4 separate regions of the Homo sapiens genome follow, and regions 2, 3 and 4 are each linked to region 1. Evidence: promoter capture Hi-C in human tissues and cell types (Jung and others, 2019). All regions are on one chromosome and are shown on one strand. The core of a region is centred on a gene start or on the middle of the fragment in contact, and the rest is flanking DNA. Distances in the headings are between cores, read along the strand shown. Region 1 holds the start of LONP2 (lon peptidase 2, peroxisomal). Region 2 has its middle 100 kb from the start of SIAH1. Region 3 has its middle 54 kb from the start of SIAH1. Region 4 has its middle 2.5 kb from the start of SIAH1.

What was found. Contacts are between HindIII fragments. The study calls those that stand out against the background at their distance.
Region 2: a contact is called between a fragment that was not itself captured here and the fragment with the promoter of LONP2 in region 1, in 1 of the 25 tissues and cell types used here (hippocampus).
Region 3: a contact is called between a fragment that was not itself captured here and the fragment with the promoter of LONP2 in region 1, in 1 of the 25 tissues and cell types used here (spleen).
Region 4: a contact is called between a fragment that was not itself captured here and the fragment with the promoter of LONP2 in region 1, in 1 of the 25 tissues and cell types used here (spleen).

The regions. Positions count from the first base shown.
Region 1 is chr16:48,242,402-48,245,815 of GRCh38, forward strand. It overlaps LONP2 (lon peptidase 2, peroxisomal), which reads left to right and starts at 1,899. Exons shown (of 15, transcript NM_031490.5): 1 at 1,899-2,220. The coding sequence starts at 1,988. The region is part of intron 1 of ABCC11 (ATP binding cassette subfamily C member 11); the gene reads right to left. RefSeq lists an enhancer at 1,835-1,924. The HindIII fragment of the contact is 28,002 bases long and covers 1-3,414 here.
Region 2 is chr16:48,487,364-48,490,777 of GRCh38, forward strand. No RefSeq gene overlaps it. Among named protein-coding and RNA genes, the nearest start is that of SIAH1, 100 kb to the left of the region's middle. The HindIII fragment of the contact is 3,451 bases long and covers 156-3,414 here.
Region 3 is chr16:48,437,227-48,440,640 of GRCh38, forward strand. No RefSeq gene overlaps it. Among named protein-coding and RNA genes, the nearest start is that of SIAH1, 54 kb to the left of the region's middle. The HindIII fragment of the contact is 6,532 bases long and covers 1-3,414 here.
Region 4 is chr16:48,386,248-48,389,661 of GRCh38, forward strand. It overlaps a transcript of SIAH1 not described here. Among named protein-coding and RNA genes, the nearest start is that of SIAH1, 2.5 kb to the left of the region's middle. The HindIII fragment of the contact is 6,781 bases long and covers 1-3,414 here.

The DNA of each region.
Region 1 (3,414 bases), core at 649-3,148:
GCTGGAGAGGATGTGGAGAAATAGGAACACTTTTACACTGTTGGTGGGACTGTAAACTAGTTCAACCATTGTGGAAGACAGTGTGGCAATTCCTCAAGGATCTGGAACTAGAAATACCATTTGACCCAGCCATCCCATTGCTGGGTATATACCCAAAGGATTATAAATCATGCTGCTATAAAGACACACACACACGTATGCTTACTGCGGCACTATTCGCAATAGCAAAGACTTGGAACCAACCCAAATGTCCATCAATGATAGACTGGATTAAGAAAATGTGGCACATATACACCATGGAATACTATGCAGCCATAAAAAAGGATGAGTTCATGTCCTTTGTAGGGACATGGATGATGCTGGAAACCATCATTCTGAGCAAACTATCGCAAAGACCGAAAACAAAACACTGCAAGTTCTCACTCATAGGTGGCAACTGAACAATGAGAACACTTGGACACAGGGTGGGGAACATCACACTCAGGGGCCTGTCGTTGGGTGGTGGGGAGTGGGGGGGAAGGGATACCATTAGGAGATATACCTAATGTAAATGACGAGTTAGTGAGTGCAGCAAACCAACATGGCACATGTATACATATGTAACAAACCTGTACGTTGTGCACATGTACCCTAGAACTTAAACTATAATAAAAAATAAAATTAAATTAAAAACAGAAAAAAAATAAAAGTATCAAGGTTGTAAAAAAAAAAAAAATTGGACGGGCGCAGTGGCTCAGGCCTGTAATCCCAGCACTTTTGGGAGGCCAAGGCGGGCAGATCACGAGGTCAGGAGATTGAGACCATCCTGGCTAACATGGCGAAACCCCGTCTCTACTAAAAATACAAAAAATTAGCCGGGCGTGGTTGCGGGTGCCTGTAGTCCCCAGCTACTCGGGAGGCTGAAGCAGGAGAATGGCATGAACCCGGGAGGCGGAGCTTGCAGTGAGCCGAGATCTCGCCACTACACTCCAGCCTGGGTGACAGAGCGAGACTCCGTCTCAAAAAAAAAAAAAAAAAAAAAAAATTGAGGACTTGCCACAGATTAGAGAACACCTAGGAGATTTCATAACAAAACACCTAGGAGATTTCACAACAGGATCCTGGATATTGGATCCTGGACCAGATCCAATGAAGGACATTAGTGGGAAAACTGGCAAAATTTGGGTAAGGCCTATAGGTTAAACGATAATAATGTTAATTTCCTGGTTTTGATCATTGAACTATGATTATGTAAGATGATAACAGACGAAACTGGGTGAAAGGTATATAGGAACTCTGCTGTAGTTTTGTACATCTAAAATCAATTCGGGCCGGGCACGTTGGCTCACGCCTGTAATCCCAGCACTTTGGGAGGCCGAGGTGGACGGATCGCTTGAGGTCAGGAGTTAAAGACCAGCCTGGCCAACATGGTGAAATCCCCTCCCTACTAAAAATACAACAATTAGCTGGGTGTGGTGGCGGGCATCTGTAATCCCAGCTACTCGGGAGGCTGAGGCAGGAGAATCGCTTGAACCCGGGAGGCAGAGGCTGCAAGCCGTGGGTATCGCGCCATTGCACTCCAGCCTCCGCGACAGAGCGAGAATCTGTCTCAGAATAAATAAATAAATAAATAAATAAATAATTAGTTCGAATCAAAAGTTAAAAACACTTCAAGTATATGTAAAAAATCGAAGAAAACGTTAAAAACACTTCAAGTATATACAATTCAAATAAGATCATCCTTCCAAATATACTCTGTAAGTGAGGCGAAGGTCGCTGCACGCTTGAGTGCACGTCTTTCCGCATAGGTAGGACGCTCAAGTCTTACCGGGAGGCTCTCCTAGAGAGCAGCGCGAAGCCATGGCTTTTGGGCCCGGGGACGGACCGTAGCGCGTAGCCGGAAGCGGAGGCGTGGAGGCGGGTCTGAGGTTTGGTGACTGCGGGGCAGGCCGGGGGCAGCTGTCTGTCTGGCTCTTTTTGACAGCCCCCAGTGCGAAAGGCTGCCAGCATGTCATCAGTGAGCCCCATCCAGATCCCCAGTCGCCTCCCGCTGCTGCTCACCCACGAGGGCGTCCTGCTGCCCGGCTCCACCATGCGCACCAGCGTGGACTCGGCCCGCAACCTGCAGCTGGTGCGGAGCCGCCTTCTGAAGGGCACGTCGCTGCAAAGCACCATCCTGGGCGTCATCCCCAACACGCCTGACCCCGCCAGCGACGCGCAGGACCTGCCGCCGCTGCACAGGTAGGCCTGGCTGCCCCCGCGGCGGCGGCGGGCGGCGCGGCCTCCTCCGGGGACCTGGGCCCAGGCCACGGCCTGCCTTGAGCGCGAGGCTCAGTTCGGGGCGGCCTTCGCGGCTCGGTTCCGCCTCTCTGGTGCTATCACTTGCAAAATGGGGATGTCAGATACCTGCCCCATGACCATGAATGAGATCGTTCATGAAGTAGTGCCTGACACCTGGTGAAACTACGCAGTTCCCTACCGTTCTGGATAATTTAATTTGAATCCTCTTCCCCCTCTCCGCAATTCCTCGCCCTCGGTCTTCAGCCTCCTAGGCCAGTGCTTTTAACTTTCCAGGCCCTTTCTTTCTCCCCGGTGATCTCTGCCTTCACTTGCCTTCGCTTTTCACCTTTCTCCCCACTGCCCTTTACTCCTATCCGCCTCCCCTTTTCTGTCACCCATCATTTTTGTCCGCTGAGGCATTCTCTGCTCCGTGAGTTTTAACTTTTCCTGTTTCATTCCTAAACTGCACTATTTGTGGGTGCCTTTCTTCTATACTCCCTGCCACCCTTCTCCTTCTCCCCCTAATCCTTCTGTTTCCCTTTGTAAAGGGCCTTTACTGCTCACATTTTCGCTGGTCCCCCTTTCTGGAACTTTCCTAGCTTCTCACCTCTGCTCCTTCACTCATAACATTTCTTAGGCCCCAGGCTTACTACTATATTGCCCAGTACCCTCGCCCTATTGGTGTGACTTTGGGTGAGAGCTTTAACCTCTATTTCTTTTATTCTGCAATTTGGAAACTGACAGCATCCATCTCTTAGGCAAGTTATGAAGAATAAATTGAATAATGTGTATATTCCACTTTGCACCATGCATGATGGATGACTTTGCTGTCCAGTACTGTGTAGTGCATGTGGCTCGTCAAATTGAGATGATAGAATTGCCAGTTGTCCTGGTTTGCTGCGATTGTCTGTTTTAGCATTGAAAGTCCTATGTTTTAGCCCCTCCGTCCCAGGGAAACCAGGAGGTTGGTCACCCTAAATGTGCTGTAAGTGTACAATACACGCCAGATTTTGAAAAAACTTTTTGATTAATACATTTTATATGGATTAAATGTTGGAAAGGTAATATTTTGAGTACTTGGGGTTAATAAAATGTTAAGATTTCTGCTGTTTTTACTTTATAATGTGGCCACTAAAATTTTATATGTGGTCCACA
Region 2 (3,414 bases), core at 631-3,130, 240 kb after region 1:
TATTTTATTTATTTATTTAGTAGAGATGGGGTCTCGTTCTCTTGCCAGGGCTAGTTCCAAATTCCTGGGCTCAGCTGATCTTCCTTCCCTGGCCTCCTAAAGTGCTAGGATTACAGCTGTGAGTCACTGCCCAGCCGGATTTTCCTTCTCAACTCATTTCATGGTCACCCTTTTAGGTGGGAGTTTTCCCTACATGCTGGCCTCCTTCTGTGTTCCTACAGAAATCCCAAATCTTTGAAAACATCCTTGCTTCCTCACCACAAGTAGTTTCAGGCTTTTGTTGCTTGTCTTACTTGTAAGAATCCCACCCCACCTCATCAGGGAAGCTCTAAACTTTGCACATGAGGGTGCATGTTATGTTATGTTTACCACCTCTGTAGGATGACTCCAGAGAGACCACTCTGTTTTATATCATTGAGAGTCCAAGACTTTCATAAAGCCCTTTCCCATCATCCTTCAAGTAAGAGCTTTTCAATTTTTGCTTCTATTCCTTCTGAGTTATCAGCTTTCCTCTTCTCTTTCAGATGCAATGTACCGTCGTATATGTCACACCAGACTAATGTGTATGTTCAAGTACGAGGCTCTACAATGATTCTGTAACATCAACTATTAAACACCAATGGCCTAACTTTTTGGACCCTTGAATTAATTTCCCTACTTTACTCAATATATTTAAAATGACTTCCAACCTCATGCAATGGTGTGACATAGAACATGACATTTTCTCCTAGATCTCTATACTTTTCCATGATAAAACTACGTTGTTGAAATGTCCCATAAAGGAACACTTCAAATACACATACATATCACTACAAATATTGTGAAATAAAGCCCATCTTACAGAAGTGAAAACAAACAAATGAAGAAAATTTCCTTGACCTCATATTCCTTTCTACCTCTCATTTCTTTGTTTTCCTTTACATCTCAAAAGAGATATCTATACTATGCTCAGCAAGTCCTCCCATTCTCTCTTAAATATTCTCCAACACAGCATTTGTCTCTACCTGTTCACCAGAACTGCTCCAAGGTTACCAGTGACCATCCTATGGCCACATTGAATGACCACTCTCAGCTCTTGTCTCACTTTGCCTTCAGGAGCATTTGACAGTTGACTCCTCTCTTTCTTGCAAAGCTTTTCTTCGCTCAGCTTCCAGAACCCCATACTCTTGAGGTTTCCTATCTCTCTCGCTGCCCCTTCTCAGTCTCCTTTGTTTATTCCTCCTCAAAGCCCCAAGTCTTAAACTTTGGGGTGCCCCAGGGCTCAGTCTTTGGGATGTTTCTCTTCTCTATCTCTACTCCTTTGGTGATCTCAATTAATTTGCTTAAAAAAAAAAAAGACACAAGGTCTTGCTTTGTTGCTCATGCTGGAATGTAGCGGCACAATCATAGCTCATTGTAGCCTCAAGCTCCCGGGCTCAGGCAGGCACAGTGGGCTCACGCCTGTAATCCCAGCACTTTGGAAGGCTGAGGCAGGCGGATCACCTGAGGTCAGGAGTTCGAGACCAGCCTGGCCAACATGGTGAAACCCTGCCTCTACTAAAAATACAAACTTAGCCGGGTGTGGTGGTGCACACCTGTAATCCCAGCTACTCAGGAGGCTGAGGCAAGAGAATCACTTGAACCTGGGAGGTGGAGGTTTCAGTGAGCCGAGATCGTGCCATTGCACTCCAGTCTGGGGAAAAGAGGGAGAGTTTGTCTAAAAAAGAAAAAACCAAAAACCAAAAAACAAAACACACACACACACACACAAAACAAAACAAAACAAAACACCTCCTATGCTCAAGCAATTCTCTTGCTTCAGCCTCCCAAGTAGCTGGGACTACAAGTGCACACCACTGTGCCTGGCTGATTTTTCTTAGTTTTTGTTTGTAGAGATGGGGTCTTGCTACGTTGCCCAGGCTGGTGTCAAATTCCTGCCCTCAAACAATCCTCCCACCTTGGCCTCCCAAATACTGGGATTATAGGTGTGAGTCCCTGAGCCTGTTCTCAATTAATTTCAGGACTTTAAATACCAACAATACACCAATTACCCCTAGATTTATACCTCCAACTCAGACCTGTCTGTTGACCTCCAGACATATCTGAACTCCCGATCAATAATCCTAAGTTGGATATTCAGCTGATACCTCAGCATTAACAAGCACCCAAAGGAGACTCTTGATCTTCTTCGCCAAACCTGTTTCTCATTCAGCCTTCCTCTGAATAATGATAGTCAGCATTTACACAGTGCTTACTCCATGCTTTGCACTGTTCTAAGTGCTTTATGATAGTAACACATTCAAAACTCATGACAACTTTCTGAGGTGGCTGTTATTACTATCTCCATGTCCTAGGTTAGGAAACTGAGGCATCAAAAGGTTAAATGACAAGAAGTTAAGGACACAGGCATCATGTGGCAAAGCCCCTTTAGAATATAAGCTCCATGACAGCAGGAATGCTGTGTGATTTTTTTTTTTTTTTTTGAGACGGTCTCTCTCTGTTGTTCAGGCTGGGTGCAGTGGCACCATCTCAGCTCACTGCAGCCTCAACCTCCCCAGCTCAAGTGATCCTCCCACCTCAGCCTCCCGAGTAGCTGGAACCACAGGCGTGCACCACCATGCCCGGGTAATTTTTGTATTTTTTTGTAGAGATGGGGTTTCACGATGTTGCCCAGGCTGGTCTCAAAGTCCTGAGCTCAACTGATCCACCTACCTTGACTTCCCAAAGTGCTGGGATTACAGGCATGAGCCACTGCACCCAGCCACTGTGTGTCTTATTTGTTGCTGTAACCCCAGGTTCTAGTGGCTGGCACACAGTAGGTGATTAGTAAGTGGTTACTGATCAATAAATGAATGAATGATTGTACACATTTTAAGTTACATATGAATTATTACAATGAAGTATTACAGTTATTACTGGTGCATCCAGTAAGCTGGAACACTTTTGCCCAGAGTGAACCACGTGGCTTTTCAGGGCAGGCCATGGGTATATAGCCAGCAGTAAATGCAGAGGCTGCCTTCTCTTGATAGTGACCCATGATCACTGGGGATCTGGATACCCTGTTCCTTCTCACCCCTCTCCCTGTTTTGGGCCCTTAGGGATGGCTCAGGTTGACCAGGCAGTTGATATCACATCTGTAGTGCTGCTGTGCCCACCCCACTTTTTCAGCAGCACAATAATAACTGTTTTTGGGTTTTTTTGGGGGGTCACTGACAGTATGCCTGAAACTCTGCTAAGTGCTCCATATGGCTTAACTGAATTCTCTCATTAACCCTAAGTGATAGCACCCCCCCAACACACATTTTATTTTAAAACAAGAGTCTTGCTCTGTCCCCCAGGCTGGAGCGCAGTGGCACAGTCTCGGCTCACTGCACCTCTACCTCCTGGGTTCAAGGGATTCTCATGCCTCAGCCTCCCGAGTAGCTAGGATTACAG
Region 3 (3,414 bases), core at 553-3,052, 190 kb after region 1:
TCGCCCCATGGAGGTGAGGGTTGTCTGGCAGGAGTCAGAGCCACAGAAGGGCTTGGAACCATAGATGATACACAGCCACTGTGGAAGATGCAGAGCAAGAGGGGGGAAATGGTTGATCCCCACATCTCACCCTACCGTACTCTGGTCTTGTACCATTTTCTCCCAACACACAAAGCTATGGAGAGCCACTTGACAAGGGAGCCTGGGAAACACAGCTTCCTGCAATATAGAGCAGAACATTGGAAAGGCAGGGAATAAGCTGGGAGCAAACAGTGGGCCATCTGTGTAACACAAGGCTGCTGGATGAAATGGCTGGGAAGTAAGAAAGCACTGCAGAGAGGAGCTGAGGGGGCCATGGCAGGCTGGATCCCATTGAAAGCCTTACAGCAGTGTTTCCCAAAGTGTGGGATGCACTGGGCCACCTGAGCTGGCAAAAAGACCAGGCAGAGCATGAAGGAACAGTGTATCAGTAAGAAAGCTAGTCTATTTTCAATTCTCTTTCCCATCATCTGACGACATTAAGGAGAAAGTCTCTATTTGGTGCTAACCTGTCTTTAACATCACTCTAACATTTTCTAATTTCTTTTTTCTTTCTTTTTTTTTTTGAGACAGAGCTCTGTTGCCCAGGCTGGAGTGCAGTGGTGTGATGTAGGCTCACTGCAACCTGCAACCTCCATCTCCTGGGTTCAAGCAATTCTCCTGCCTCAGCCTCCTAAGTAGCTGGGACTACAGGCATGCACCACCACTCCCAGCTAATTTTTGTATTTTTAGTAGAGACGGGGTTTCACGCTAGCCAGGCTGGTCTCAAACTCCTGACCTCAAGTGATCCACCAGCCTCGACCTCCCAAAGTGCTGAGATTACAGGTGTGAGCCACCGTGCCTGGCCACGTTTTCTCATTTCTTTTTAACTCCAAAAGATAGCAAACCAGACAGGTGTGGTGGTTCACGCTTGTAATCTCAGCGCTTTGGGAGGCCTATGCGGGAGGATTGCTTGAGTCCAGGAGTTCAAGACCAGCCTGAGTATCATAGTGATGACCCCCATCTCTACAAAGAATAAAAAATTAGCTGGGCATAGTGATGTGTGCTTGTAGTCTTAGCTACTTGGGAGGCTGAGGCAGGAGGATCCCTTGAGCCTGGGAGTTTGAGGTTGCAGTGAGCCATGACTGTACCACTGCACATTCCAGCCTGGATGACAGAGTGACACCCTGTCTAAAGCAAAAAGAGAGGAAAACTTAGGTTAAAGCCTTTGGCTGGTACTGGTATAATAGATGCTGCTGGTCCTGCCTAATCCCCGTCACCTAGTTGATACATTCACCTCCCAGCTGCTGTGAATGTTGGCAGCTAGCACTTTACAGCCACACCCTTCTTTTGGAAATTGCCTCACCTGGAAATAGGTGGGAGATTATACCATCATCCCGAGAGGAAGTATGCGGCAACGACTGATTGATGCCAGGCACAAAAGCCCAGCCCTCATGCCTTGAGGTGGTTCAACTCTGGTCCCATTCCTGTTCCAGAGCTTCAGCTGGCCCCACGCCTTTGCTTAGCCTCTTTCTGTTTCCCTCCCTCCTTCACCAGGAGTCCCCCCTGTAAATCACTTGCACAAGAATCCCCACCTTATACTCAAGCCCTGGCTTGACTTCTAGAGAATCTAAGATAGCAGGCAACAGGAGCTAGCTGGAATTGTGTAACTTTAAAAATTATTCTTTTTAATATTTTTGCCTGTGTTGATTTATGATAAGGTATAAAGGTTTTCCATTTATAGTAGTGCTAAGTTTTCTGTAAGTGTAATATTATTTTTAATTTATATATATATATAATTAAATTATAAAGACCATGGGCAACATAGTGAGACCCATCTCTACAAAAATTAGCAGGGCGTAGTGGCATATACCTGTAGTCCTAGCTACTTGGGAGGCTAAGGCAGGAGGATCCCTTGAGCCTGGGAGGTCGAGGCTGCAGTGAGCTAGGACTACACCACTGCACTCCAGCCTAGGCAACAAAGTAAGACCCTGTCTCAAAAAAAAAAAAAAAAAAGGCAGGGGTTGGTAGAAAAAATAAAAAATAAAAAATAATTATCTGGGCATGGCGGCATATGCCTATACTACACTACTCAGGAGGCTGAGCTGGGAGGATCCCTTGAGTCTCAGGAATTCGAGGCTGAAATGAGCTATGATTGCACCACTGCACTCCAGCCTGGGAAACAGAGAAAGTCCCTTTCTCTAATAATATATATGTTATTTTTATTTTTATATTTTAATTTATATATAAATATATATAGGTCGAGTTCTGTGGCTCACGCCTGTAATCCCAGCATTTTGGGAGGCCGAGGCGGGCAGATCACCTATATTAGGAGTTTGAGACCAACTTGGCCAACATGGTGAAACCCTGTCTCTACTAAAAATACAAAAATTAGCTGAGCGTAGTGGTGCATGCCTGTAATCCCAGCTACTCGGGAAGCTGAGGCAGGAGAATCGCTTGAACCCGGGAGGCGGAGGTTGCAGTGAGCCGAGATCTCACCACTGCACTCCAGCCTGGGTGACAGAGCGAGACTCTGGCTAAATATATATAAAATATTTTTATAATTTTTATACTACTTATTTTTTATATTTTATAATATTTATTTTTATTCTATTTTTATAATAGTTGTATGTATTTTTATAATATTTAATATATACATATATAATTTTATATATGTAATAAAATAAAAAAAATAACTTTTTTTTTTGAGATGGAATCTCACTCTGTCGCCCAGGCTGGAGTGCAGTGTCGCGATCTCACTGCAGCCTCCGCCTCCCGATGTTGCTCACTGCAACCTCCGCCTCCCAAGTTCAAGCAATTCTTGTGCCTCAACCTTCTGAGTAGCTGGGATTACAGGCACATGCCACATCTGGCTAATTTTTGTATTTTTAGTAGAGATGGGGTTTCACCATGTTGGCCAAGTTGGTCTCAAACTCCTAGCTTCAAGTGATCCACCCGTCTCAGTCTCCCAAAGTGCCAGGATTACAGGTGAGTGCACCCGGCAGAAATGGACTATTAATACTTTCAAAAACTTGGATGGACCTCAAAAGCATTATGCTAAGAAACTCACAAAACTAGGTGCTGTGTGATTCTTCTTCTGTGAAACTTTAAAAAGGCAAAATTACAAGGACAGAAGGAAGATCAGCATTGCCAGGGGCTGGGAGGGGAGGAGAGGGACTGCAAAAGGGCATGGAGGACCTTCTTGGGTAACGGAAATATTCTATATATTGTAATTGTAGTGGAGGCTATAGACTACATACATTTATCAAAATGTATCAAACTATACACTTGAAATGGTAAATTTTAATGTACATAAATTATACCTTATAAAGCTGATTTTTTATTTTTTTTTGAGATGGAGTCTTGCTCTGTTGCCCAAGCTGGTGTGCAGTGGCA
Region 4 (3,414 bases), core at 421-2,920, 140 kb after region 1:
TGTAATCCCAGCACTTAGGGAGGCCGAGGCCGATGGATTACCTGAGGTCAGGAGTTCGAGAGTAGCCTGGCCAACATGGTGAAACCCTATCTCTACTAAAAATACAAAAATTAGCCGGGCGTGGTGGTGCACGCCTGTAGTCCCAGCTACTCGGAGGCTGAGGCAGGAGAATCGCTTGAACCCGGGAGGCAGAGGTTGCAGTGAGGCAGAGATCAGGCCATTGCACTCCAGCCTGGACAACAGAGCGAGACTCTGTCTCAAAAAAATAAAAATAAAAATAGAAAAATCCCATACCGGGCACGTATGTACAAATTCCCAGTGTATGATAAAGTTTATATGTGCAAAACACTAGTTTACAGTATTCCTAATTACATGATTTAAACTGCAATTTTACTTTCACATTTTTGGGGAGAAGTTATAGCTCCTCAGTACACGGGAAGGTCAATAGAGTTCGGTTCACTTCAGTTTAGAGGTAAATTTTCCATTTTTACAGACTATGTGCTTGGCATAGCCATGTGGCCTTGACCTGGTCGTGAAGGGCAGAGGAGTTCTGTCCTGGGCGAGGAGCAGCTCTGGGGTGAGATGTGTTTCTCGCCCCCAGAACCCCTGGGCCGCTCTGCAAGCAGTGAAATGGATACGGACTAAGAGAGAACTTGCCAACGTGGCGATTAAAGTTCTAAACACCCGGCTTTGCCAAAGTCAGATTTTGTCCTCCTTATCCCGCATCCCTTCCTCTACCCAACAGCATTTGTCCATCTGAAAATAACAGTCTGTCTCTGGCCCACTGCTGACAGTCGAGGACTTACCTTATAAACTAGTGGATTCTCTTAAACTGCAGGGGTGCCCAGGACACAGTGTCCCCTGAGGATGCCGCACACCAGTCTTGAAGTGCTGGATCGTTGACGTCAGGCACCCAGAAGCAACTTCTGCCTCTGGAATTCTCAAACGTGCTTTTCTTGGCTTAGTTTGTGCCTGCTCTCCTCTAGAAGAGTCCAAGTTACTTCTTACTTTCCCCACTTCCCTTTTATACAAAACAAATTTAATCGGGTTAATTCCATCTCTGAGAATTCCTACCTAGATTTGGGCGGGGCTCAATCTGATTTGGTTAATTCTGGGTGGTAGCTATGGGTGGGACATAAACATCACCATTATAAATTTAATTTACTCCCCCTCTCAAAAAAATGTACCTTCCATTTGAAAGAAAATAGCTCCACTGTGGGGGTAACTAAGCACCTTTTCTGAACAGGGAGTTGACTCTGCTTCCTTGACAGTTTATCCATAGAAAAGCATTTTGTAAACTGTAAAGCCTATCCAAATAATCCTCCAATTGATGGGATTTCAGTAACGGTGACAAATATTTTCAGGCCACATCTGGATAGGGAGCCTTCCTGGTCCCCTCAAATCACATCAAATGGTAATTCCATCTATTGCAATGGAACATAACGCTCTGGTCCTGCATCTGGCCCGTAGTTAAGGTACCAGTGATGTAAATTACTTTCCTCTTATGAATAAAACAGGCACTGGCCAGGCACGGTGGCTCACACCTGTAATCCCAGCACTTTGGGAGGCCAAGGCAAGAGGATCGCTTGAGGCCCAGAAGTTCCAGACCAACCTAAGAACATAGCAAGACCCCGTCCCTATAAAAAGTTTAAAAATTAGCCCGGCAGGGTGGTGTGCGCCTGTAATCTCATCTAATCAGGAGGCCAAAATGAGAGGATTGCTTGAACCTGGGAATTTGAGGCCATAGTGAGCTATGATTGTGCCCCTGCACTCCCATCTGGGTGACAGAGGGACACTCCATCTCTAAAAACATAAAAATAAATGAATAAATAAAACAGGCACTGATGAGAGTATCTTTATTTGGGGGTTTTGCTATGAATTTATATTAAATTGATATTTATTTATTTATTTATTTTGTAATCTCGGCTCACTGCAACCTCCATCTCCTGGGTTCAAGCGATTCTTGTGCCTCAGCCTCTCAGATAATGCTGTCAAAGTTGGCTAAACTAGTTAAGACTGAACAGATGATTTCCAAGTGTCTTCATGTCAATATAGTTATTTTACAATAGACCAGTTCACAAGACCAAACCCATCTATTGAATCACCGATGGGCTGTGTTTGTTTCCAGGCAATCACAGATGTCTCTTGCCCAGGAAACTATAGCTATCTCCTCTTACATTAAACCACTGATACCCATTTGTCATTCAGCTTAGGTGGATAGGTCTGGAAACATATTAGCATTCCCTTCCAAGCCTGGCTCTGCTGGTAGCGAAACAGAATCTTTTTCAGCCTGGAAACTGGAAGGCGGTTCCTCCCTCCCAAATAGACTCCTATAAGCTTTGCAAAGGAAAGCAGGTCCCCAACTTGTCAGACATGCCTACAGCAGAGCAGAAACAATGTTTTCTTTATCAGACACACCTGTTGCCAGTCACTGTCTGAGGTTGGTGAATGTGTTAAACAGTATCCCAAACAAATTTTCCTGGACATGGTGGAGAAGTTAGAGACACAACATGAGCATCCAAGAATGAAACAGGAAGTAGCTGAAGGAAGTTCCCAAAAGCCCAAGTGGTTGGGAAATGAGTTCGCCCATAACTGTAGTTTTCCTTCAATATAATCAAGTTTCTTTAGGAAAAAGGTTACATGCTAGGCATCACATTTTTCAAGAAGTTAGAGCCGGGCACGGTGGCTCACGCCTGTAATCCCAGCACTTTAGGAGGCCAATGCCTGCAGATCACCTGAGGTCAGGATTTGGAGACCAGCCTGGCCAACATGGTGAAACTTCGTCTCTACTAAAACTACAAAAATTAGCCAGGTGTGGTGGTGGATGCCTGTAATCTCAGCTACTCGGGAGGCTGAGGCAGGACAATCACTTGAACCCAGGAGGTGGAGGTTGCAGTGAGCAGAGATCACACCACTGCACTCCAGCCTGGGCAACAGAGCAAGATCCTTGTATCAAAAAAAAAAATTAGAAAATCATTGAGGTTTTTATGTAGCTGGTGGAAGTAGGTGATACTGACAATTAGTTTAAGTAATTGTTGTTCTTGAGTTCATTGGAATGCAGTGATAACTGTCCAGTGCATTAGGTACAACCCCTGCCTCATGCCCAACCCACAGATGCTCATTTCCATGGATCCAAATCTTTTCTTTACACTTGTCAGAATTTAGCCTTTTTCTTTTTTCTTTTTTTTTTTTTTTTCCAAGACGGAGTCTTACTCTGTCACCCAGGTTGGAGTGCACTGGTGAGATCTTGGTCACTGCAACCTCTGCCTCCCAGGCTCAAGCAATCCTCCCACCTCAGCCTCCTGAGTAGCTGGAAACACAGGTGCGTGCCACTGTGCCCAGCTAATTTTTTTGTATTTTTGGTGGAGACAGGGTTTCACCATGTTGCCCAGGCTGGTCTCAAACTCCTGAGCT